Linked DNA regions of Homo sapiens: region 2 is linked to region 1. Evidence: promoter capture Hi-C in 16 types of primary human blood cells and fetal thymus (Javierre and others, 2016). All regions are on one chromosome and are shown on one strand. The core of a region is centred on a gene start or on the middle of the fragment in contact, and the rest is flanking DNA. Distances in the headings are between cores, read along the strand shown. Region 1 holds the start of CD163 (CD163 molecule). Region 2 has its middle 40 kb from the start of ACSM4.

Region 1 (5,157 bases), core at 1,881-4,380:
TATACTTTCAAAGAATCCTTCCTACAACAAGAAATGATGTATTAATGCTAGAAATAGTTGTTTTTTGATTTACTAAGTTGATTATCAGTTAATGGACAAAATGGTAATAATTTGTGGGTCAACATATCAAAACAAGTCACTGGGAAAGAACAAGGAAATAACTTAGATGTCATGATATTTTTATGATATAGGAATAGTAGGTTACAGTAAGCTTACTGAATATCAAATTTAAACCACCACTTCTTGGCTTTTTGGCTAAGATCATGTATAAAATTGAAGCCAGTCACCTCCTCATTAATCACAGTGTTCAGAATTTTTTTTATTAAAAAAAAATGACCTCGTGTTTTGTGGTTTTCTAGCAATGGATGGAGTACTTTTATACATGAACTAGATTGCTTACAGGAAAGTGGCTTATTCTAGGTTTTAACCCATCTACATATTTTTTTCCCACCAAGGATTTTGTGTTGAGGCTTTGACTAATGCAAGTCTTACCTGAGCAGGTCACTCCAGCATCTTGTTGGTGAGTACAGTTACTATGCTTTCCCCATCCATCATGTTTGCAATCCCAAAGAGCTGACTCATTCCCACGACAAGAAACATGATCCATCCAAATGCGTCCAGAACCTGCACTGGAATTAGCCCATCCAGGGGCTTTGATAGCAGTTGGACATCCCAGCTGGTTACAAATCACAGAGACCGCTTCCATGCTCCAGCCATTATTACACACCGTTCCCCACTCCTCCTGGACTTTCACTTCCACTCTCCCGCTACACTTGTTTTCACCATCCACTAGCCTCAGCTCCTTGTCTGTTCCTCCTGCAACAATGGATTAAGACAGTAATTGGCCAAGGTCGCAAAGAGCAAGTAGAAAATTATTTTTTTACATTACTTATTTATCCTTCAAACTCAGATTTGAGAACCATCCTAGTCCTATCCATGGTAAAACAGAAGAATGTTATTTCACAGTCATTCAAATATAAGTATCAGTATCACTGGTTTCAAATTAAGCAGTGCTATATGACCAGTAAAGGTAAGTAACACAATAGTGTTTAATAGCTTTATTTTATGGCTGGATAGCCTTAATAGTGGCAATTTATATAATTCCTGTGAAGCATTTTCGAGTTAAATAAGATGCTACAAAACGTTATGGGGATGAACTTTTTACATTTCTCCAAAATCCTAAGGTCGATAGAAAGAAGGCTGATAGAGAATTTATGAAGATGAAAAGACTAGTTGTAAGAAATTTAACTCTTATTTCATACGTATATGTAAAATAGCATAAATCTTAAAAACGCTAGACTGAAACTTATCTAAAATTAAGATGGAGATATTTTCTGCTATTTTCTACCATAAAATAAACCTCTTTGTACTCTCTTCCCATCCCCAGATGATAGATGATCTCAGTTGCCTCCTTGGCATTATTTTAGCTTTATGTAGGAATCTGGTCCCACCAACCTGGCATCTCTCAATACATTTTTAGATAAATTTTGGCATTTGAATTTACTAATGTGTTTCCCAAATTCACTTTTGTTTTAATGATTCTGAAGTTTCTCCTCCTTTGTATTCTTTCCTATTTTTCAGTTCAACATTATTTCTAATCTTTAAGTAAAATTCATTTCTCTCCTGTGAGTTTATTTCATTTGGTGAGGAACCATGCTAATATTTTGGTTAGATTTTTATTGTGTGCTTTTAATAATATCTGATCCTTTGAATACATGGAGCATGTCACCTAGTTTTTAGATGCTACTTGGCCTTCAGAAAAATTGTTTGCCTTTTAACTGTTCTTGTCAGAGTGGGCTAAGGCTGTAAGTAAATTTGACAAAGTACTCACCAAGAGAACTGGTGACAAAACAGGCACTGAGAAGTAAGACCACAGTAATGGTGAAGGGACTCAAGTTGACAAAATGTCTTCTGAAGTCTGTGAAAAAGAAAAGAGGGCAAAAGTAGCATCTTCCCAAAAAGAGACTTTGGAGAAGATAGATGGTTTCAGAGGTTAATTAACAAAGAAGCTCAAACCAAGACAGAAAACTCTTCATTCTAAATTGCAAGGCAGGCAGAAAACATTCATACCCAGGCTCATATAGTTTCAGTGAAATGGTTTTGAAAATGTTCATGTTTATAGGCAACCTAGAGGTGACGGATTAGCAGAAGGTTGGTGGTGGAAACGAGAATTGCAAGGTCAACCCTTAAAACCTGGAAAATGGAAACAACATCAATGAAACTTAGTAGTGGACAATTCTCCCAGCAGGCACAGGGAAGGTATCCTGAGATTTCTCTATTCCCTAACCACCTTGATATTCAATTATGGATGCCCCCATCTTTAAGACTACCTAGCCGCACTGATAGAGGATAAGTTCCATGAGTAAACGAATTATATCTATCATGTTCACCATAATTTCACCAGTACCTGGCTTGATGCTTGCCAAATAGTAGCTAGCAGAACAATACCTAAGTGATGATATCCATATCTGAAAAACTCAAATATTAAATCTTGTCATCTCTACCTGTATCCTTATCACATAATACACTCTTTAATGCTGTTATTACTCTCATATCTTCTCGTTACTCTAACCCAACACTAATTTAAAACTAAAAATGCTAAATGATTTTAACATGTCCAAATAAGTCTTAAAATAGATAACTCACTTATCAGAGTAGATAACTTTCTTTATGTAATTAACTCTCTATCAATATTCCTTTCTGCATATTCTATCTTTTCTAACAACTATTTTTTCATACTCAGTACATTTCAGTTAACTTTAGTTCCTGACTTAATTTCACCTCAGCAGTTTTACAAAATTAATGCCGACTCTGATTCCCATATCACATCTTCAATTTTGAATCTATGGCAGATCAAAGGTGCTGCCATATAAGCCTATGTCCTTTTTCCACTCCTTACTCTCCTGATGCCAATCACTTTTAAATCACATCCATTGACTGTCATAATAATTACATACCCCATTAAAGGGGAAATGTAGAATAAATGAGAAGCTTTTACCAGCAGATCCAGAGTCTTCAAGTAGCACCATTCTGAGTTTGCTCATTCCAAAGATTTATAACTTCAATGATTCCTAAATCTTCTTGTATTATTCCCTAGAAATGTTCTTCTAAAGAAAACAACTAAGAATTCTAAAAATCACTTCACTTTCATGAAAATGAAAAGGCTACATATGGAGGCGGAGTCAACTCAAAAAGGGAAGTCATTGAAAGAGCTGAGGTTCCATTTCATACTCATGTTTTCTTCAATATAGCACATGAAACAACCAAAGGAAATTGGGAAACACTTCCCACAGATTTCGAAAAATTAGAGGAAATACTAACTCATATGCTGCTGTTGCTGAATTAAATATTTTACATTTTTGAACTTCATTTTGGACAAATATATAAGACACAAAAAATTACTAATTGTCATGTAGAAAAATTATGTAAAAAACTAAAGCAAAACAGGCAAAACATAATTAAATAACATTTTATCATATGCACTTTTAATTTTATTTCCATAATCAAATGTGTCTAATGAGTAATTTTGTGTAAGTTGTTGAGACACAGCATTTGTCATTTCTTTTCTAATGGGATGAAGTACACCAAGAGAATTAGCCATGACTATTACTGATATTACAAATGGTGAAACAAAAATTAGCAACACATGATTTTAGCTCTATATAACTCAGATTCAAGTAAGAGAAACACATATGATAACAACAATGAACATAAAGCTAAAGTGCAGTGTTAAAAATAATGGACAAAGTAGTCCTATCTATTGAGAGAAAGGAATGAACAGTCAGAAAACTATTTTCTCTGAGGACAGGCTTAAATTGTGTCCTAAAAGATGAGAAAAACATTGCCAAAGGGACAAATGATAAAGGAGTTTAAGGCATAAAAAATAGCACATACAAATGAATATTTGTATATAAAAACATATAAGCTCAAAAGAACTACTAATAGTTCATCATGGCATACATATTGTCAGGTGTTAGTGATGGGCCTGAAATGGGGAATTAAAGAGCAACTCCAGCCTTCCAGAGAGACATTCACTAGAACCCAGTCAACAAAGGCACCCCAGTTTTCTTCCACTTCTCAGGCATGCCAAATCTCTCCCTGCCTCATGGTATGTCATACATATTGTTCCTTCTGTGTTTACTGCCTCCCTACCCGTACCTTTCTCTAAGATAACTCTCACTCACGTATACTTTATTTCTCAGTTAAACCTCCCTTCACTAGGAGAAATAACTCTAACGCTGAAAGACCCCAGAAAATATGCACTCATGATAGCCTGTACTTATGAGGGTTGTCAATTATATATATATTTTTTTCCTTTTTTTAAATTATTATTATACTTTAAGTTTTAGGATACATGTGCACAACATGCAGGTTTGTTACGTATGTATACATGTGCAATGCTGGTGTGCTGCACCCATTAACTCGTCATTTAGCATTAGGTATATCTCCTAATGTTATCCCTCCCCCCTCCCCTGACCCCACAACCGTCCCTGGAGTGGGATGTTCCCCTTCCTGTGTCCATGTGTTCTCATTGTTCAATTCCCACCTATGAGTGAGAACATGTGGTGTTTGGTTTTTTGTCCTTGCGATGGTTTGCTGAGAATGATGGTTTCCAGTTTCATCCATGTCCCTACAAAGGACATGAACTCATCATTTTTTATGGCTGCATAGTATTCCATGGTATATATGTGCCACATTTTCTTAATCCAGTCTATCATTGATGGACATTTGGGTTGGTTCCAAGTCTTTGCTATTGCGAGTAGTGCCGCTATAAACGTACGTGTGCATGTGTCTTTATAGCAGCATGATTTATAATCCTTTGGGTATATACCCAGAAATGGGATGGCTGGGTCAAATGGTATTTCTAGTTCTAGATCCCTGAGGAATTGCCACACTGACTTCCACAATGGTTGAATTAGTTTACAGTCCCACCAACAGTGTAAAAGCATGCCTATTTCTCCACATCCTCTCCAGCACCTATTGTTTCCTGACTTTTTAATGATCACCATTCTAACTGGTGTGAGATGGTATCTCGTTGTGGTTTTGGTTTGCATTTCTCTGATGGCCAGTGATGATGAGCATTTTTTCATGTGTTTTTTGGCTGCATAAATGTCTTCTTTTGAGAAGTATCTGTTCATATCCTTCGCCAATTTTTGA
Region 2 (5,157 bases), core at 1,611-4,110, 240 kb before region 1:
CTCTAAACCCTGGACATATAATAGTGAATAAATCAGACAAGAGCTCTACTTTTTTGGAGTCTACGTTCTAATGAGAAGACAGGCAGGAAAATAGCAGATTAATCAGCAAATAGCTCAAGTAAAACCAGATGAGGAGTGCTACTTTAGAATGGGTAGTGGAGTGAAATTCTGAAGACATGACATTTGAGTTGAGACCTCATGAACAAGAATCAGTTATATGGAAATCTGAAGCAACACACTTAGGCTGAGGGAACAGTGAATGTCAAGGTTCTGGAGTAGGAGCCACCTTGGCATGTTCAATGAACAGCAAAAAAAAAAGCGTGATGAGCACAGGGAGGACAGTGGCAGGAGATGAGGCTAGAGACATGGGCAAAAACCAGACATGTAGAGCAGCAGTTCTCAGTCCTCGCTGCTCACCAGAATCCCCAGAGGAGCTTTAAAAATATGGATGACTGGGTCCCCACTCCCAGAGAAACTGATTTAATTGGTCTGAGGTGGGGCTCAGGCATAGATCTTTTGAAAAATGCCCTGGGGATTCTGATGGATATCCAAGGTTGAGACTAATATTGAGACTTCTAGCACTTTGGGAGGTCATGGCAGGCACATCACTTGAGGCCAGGAGTTCGAGACCAGTCTGGCCAACATGGTGGAACCCTATCTCTACTAAAAATATAAAAATTAGCCAGGCATGATGGGGCGCACCTGCAATCCCAGCTATTCAGGAGGCTGAGGAATGAAAATTGCTTGAACCGGGGAGGTGGAGGTTGCAGTGAGCTGAGATTCTGCCACTGCACTCCAGCCTGGGCAACAGAGCGAGACTCTGTCTCAAAAAAAAAAAAAAAAAAAAAAAAAAAAGAAATACCTGAAAAAAAAGAAAGAAAAATAAATACCTGAGACTGGGTAACTGGGTACTTTATACAGAAAAGAGGTATATATACACACAAATATACACATATATATATTTCAGAAAATTTTTTAAAAAGAAGAGACTTCCAGATATTCTGTAGTAAAGAGAATATAGGTGAAAGACTGTGTGTGGAAGCAGAGAATTAATGTAAGTTGAACCTGGTAAACAGAAGAATCATTTCAAATAACATTCCCCCACAGAGAAATTTGAGCAATCTTAATTGCCAGACCTCCTGAGAACATAAAAGCTTTACCTGCCAAGAAAACTTGGCTCAAGAAACACCAACTAATAAAATGTAAGACTTTCTATCTTCCAAGCTAACTAACATGTATTGAATTGGTAATATGTACCAGATATTGTATACTAAGCAATTCACTAGATGGTCTAGTATCTTCATAACAATTTCATCTTATCTGTGAGTAAGACCCAATTTAGAGATGACAGTACTCATCTTGGAGAGATTTAGTGTCTTATGTAATGCCACACAACTATTAAGTAGCAGAGGTGCGTCTCTCTGATTCGAAGTCTATGATCATTGCTGCTGTAAGACCTAGTTTGCTGAGGTTACAAAATGGCCAGTCTAATATTTAAACTACTGCTCTCTAGGAAAGTGCTCTTGGGTTCTGTTATGAAAAACTACCACCAGCCGGCCATGGAGGCACATGTCCTTAGTCCCAGACACTCAGGAGGCCGGTGTGAGAGGATCACCTGAGCTCTGGAGGTTGAGGCTGCAGTGAACCACAATGGCACCATTACACTCCAGCCTGGGCAATAGTGTGAAAAACTGTCTCAGAGAAAAAATGATTTCCCAGAGATTGGCAAAGAAAAAAAGGAGGAAAGAAACAAAGTTGAAAGAAAGAAAGAAAGAAAGAGAAAGAAAGAAACTTCCAGAAATAAAATCAATCTAGAACACTGTGGTAAAACAACTGTGGTAGTTATTACCCAGCTATCCACCCCTGTATTAGTCCATTCTCTTATTGTTATAAAGAAATACCTGAAAAAAAAGAAAGAAAAATAAATATCTGAGACTGGGTAACTGGGTAATTTATACAGAAAAGAGGTTTAATTGGCTCATGGTTCTGCAGGCTGTACAGGAAGCATAGCAGCTTCTGCTGCCTGGGGGACCTCAGGAAACTTACAATCATGACAGAAGGCAAAGGGGCAGCCAGCACTTCACATAGCCGGAGCAGGAGGAAGAGAGATGGGAGAAGGTGCTACATACTTTACACACTTTTAAATAACCAGATCTCATGATAACTCACTGGCTATCAGCACCCATGATCCAATCTGCCCCCATGATCCAATCACCTCCCACCAGGCCCCATTTCCAACACTGAGAATTATAATTCAACATGAGATTTGGTGGGGACACAGATCCAAAGCATATCAACCCCCCAGATAGTACTACAATTTCCACTTGGGCCTTGTGACAAGCTCTGGCCAATGAATTATGAGCTGGAATGATGTATACCATGTCTAGGCTGGAGCACATAATTGCTTCCTTTCCCACACTTATGATGGGCGATCCTTCAGATAATGGTTGTTCTATCAGCCAGGTCACAGAAGATCTCTCAGCCAACCCATGCTGAACAAGTAGTGAGAGCAAAAGATTGTGATGTTATAGACCACGGAGATTTGGGGGATTCTTTATTATGTAGCATAGCGTAGTTCATCCTGACTGATACAAACTGCATCCTTCCTCTCTGAGTTTGTCTAGAGATGACAAATTACCAGCTCTACTTATGCATCACACATGCCCAAAAGTGTGTGTGTGTGTTGTGTATGTGCTTTATTTTGTTGCTAATAAATCTATTAAAAGTGGAAAACTCTAAGTCCATCAGCAGAAAACATTCCTGTAGATATTTCTTCAGTACAAAGGATGTCAGTTGTTCAATCTGACAAGGTAATTAATGAATGAGAAACTCCAGAATAGCCACATCCAGACCACAAATACCTCCCTTGGAGAAAGATGCATATGTGGGCCAAGCAAGGGCAAAAGGAAGGTCCCTAAAGAAGAGCCCACACATGTTGATGTTGCTCTGGGAGAAATATATTAATTTATTTAACAAATAAAAAAGCTACTATGTTCCAGGCATTGTCCAAAGTGCAAAAAATAGAATAGTGAACAGAACAGACAAAAATCTCCCTTTTTATAGAGTTTATATTCCAATGGCGTGAGGGAAGATAATGACATGGCTCTAAAAACATTTAATTGTTCCAGTATAGACTTTCCCCATTTCTCATGATCTGTTCATCCAGCTGAATAAATAAGAAATGTGACAAGCCCATCACCCCCCACTTACTGACAGGGTAAAGTCTGAAGCAATATATGGGGTAATCCAACCTACACCATCTGGGGCCCTGAAATGCAGATCATTAATTTGGATTAAACCCTTAAATACTGGTTTCTGATTTCCATTCATAGGAAACAACAGCTCTTTCTTCTTCTGGCTGCACCTGGGGTTCTGCCCACTGGCCTAGAGGAAGAAATGGAATTCATGTTTTGATCACCACATCTGGCATCTGAATCCCTTCATCTTCTTGAAAACCTCTGAAGATCTGAGTACTGTTTAAGAGCAGACTCCCTAAGGCAATTATCCTCTCAGGCCAGAAGTCTCAGGAGGTAGAGGTTGGAGTCTATGGTAGCACCATCTTTGACTCACTGGTCTGTCTGCATAGAAAATACTGCAACTCATGTTTAGCTATTGTCTAATGTATGTGCCATCAGCTCCTAAGGGGACAAAGACAGAGTGACAGCCCCTTCCTGTGACGGTTACTATGGGACTGAACGAAGGAGGACGAATGCAGAAATGAAGACAAAGACAAAAGATCTGTTTTAAAAGAAGGGGTGGGGGGCTCCTTGTTTCTAGTGAGCAAGGGCCCTGAGCTTCTACAGCCCTTTGTATTTATTACGTAGAATCAACAGGGAGGAAAGGTAATGGTTGGTCAGCTGCTTGATTTATCACAGGTTCACCTAATTGCTTTTTTTATACTACAGGCTTCAGATATTCCTATAGATAACCACAAGGAACACTGCGCTTGGGGCGTGACTGCCTCAGCATTCCTTCTGGCAGCAGATGCAGTTTGCCAGTTTGCCAACTCCCGCTTTCATGAGAACAGTTTGCTATTTGCTCATATAGCCTCCAGTGGTATACTGAGTTGGTCATGACCCTCATTCTTTTGGCCTCCAACACTTTCCCATTTCCTTTATTCCAATAACTGTGTGCTGTTATGTATCTGTACCTTGTGTACCTCTAAACTCTTCACTGAGTGTGATACAAAGTACATTAATTAGTAAATATTTGAGTAGTAAATAATCCTGGGTTTCAACCAAATATAGATTGATCCAGACACATAATGTTAAGTCACAAAGGAGGGAGGTCTGTTCAGCTTCCTGTCTTGCCTCACGGCTCCTTTCTGGTACTGTGCACTGTGGGCCAACAATGTTAGTTACTAGTCTAAGACTATACAAGGCCTAATGTGGTTAGTCATTCTTATATTAGTAAAGCTCAACAGCAAATAATGGTTGATTTACTGATTGTCAAATACTATTTCTCACTAAAGGAAACCAGAACTCTTTAGCGAAATGGCTGACTTCAGAACTGTGACAGGAAATGTACAAGATGAACCTGGGACATCTTATTTGTGCCAGAAAATAAGAAAGCTTCCAAAGACAACTGAGTCATGTCAAAAAAGGGACACAGAAACCAGCCTGAAGGGGCTCCCTCCTGAGTCACTTTGGGACAAAAATTTGAGCATTAAAAAAAATGACTACATATGTATGCATATGTATATAAATATATATAATTGCATATTTATGAGTTCACAATCATACTTTAAAAACTCATTAGTCACCACTGCAAGTTGGTAGGGTACCAACCTGTTATGCTGAAAGTTGGTAATAATAATAAAGACAAAGAATCAAGCATGAAAATAAGGCTTGGTCCTAGGCAATTTACTTAACCTCTCAGAGCTTGTTTCCTCATTTATAAAATAATAGTACTGGTAGTGCCTAGTTCACAGGATTTTTGTGAGGATTAGATAAAATAATAACACATGAGATCCCAGCAATTACAATGTACTATATGCATGTAAAGAATACCTGCAATTATTATGTGGACAGTTTTCAAGTGAAACAGATCTCTGATGATTTATAGGCACCTGGTTTTGGATTGATGTGATTATAAGACCTTGAGGAGTAATTCAACATTCTCAGCCTCTTGTTCAAGGAGCTTACCTAAGGGGTATAT

What was found. The method cuts DNA at HindIII sites, captures the fragments that hold promoters and counts their contacts. A CHiCAGO score of 5 or more calls a contact.
Region 2: a fragment that was not itself captured here is called in contact with the fragment with the promoter of CD163 in region 1 in 1 of 17 cell types (total CD4 T cells); the score reaches 5.2 in total CD4 T cells.

The regions. Positions count from the first base shown.
Region 1 is chr12:7,500,647-7,505,803 of GRCh38, forward strand. It overlaps CD163 (CD163 molecule), which reads right to left and starts at 3,131. Exons shown (of 17, transcript NM_203416.4): 1 at 2,999-3,131; 2 at 1,832-1,918; 3 at 493-816. The coding sequence starts at 3,044. The HindIII fragment of the contact is 3,696 bases long and covers 2,990-5,157 here.
Region 2 is chr12:7,261,447-7,266,603 of GRCh38, forward strand. No RefSeq gene overlaps it. Among named protein-coding and RNA genes, the nearest start is that of ACSM4, 40 kb to the right of the region's middle. The HindIII fragment of the contact is 3,417 bases long and covers 1,153-4,569 here.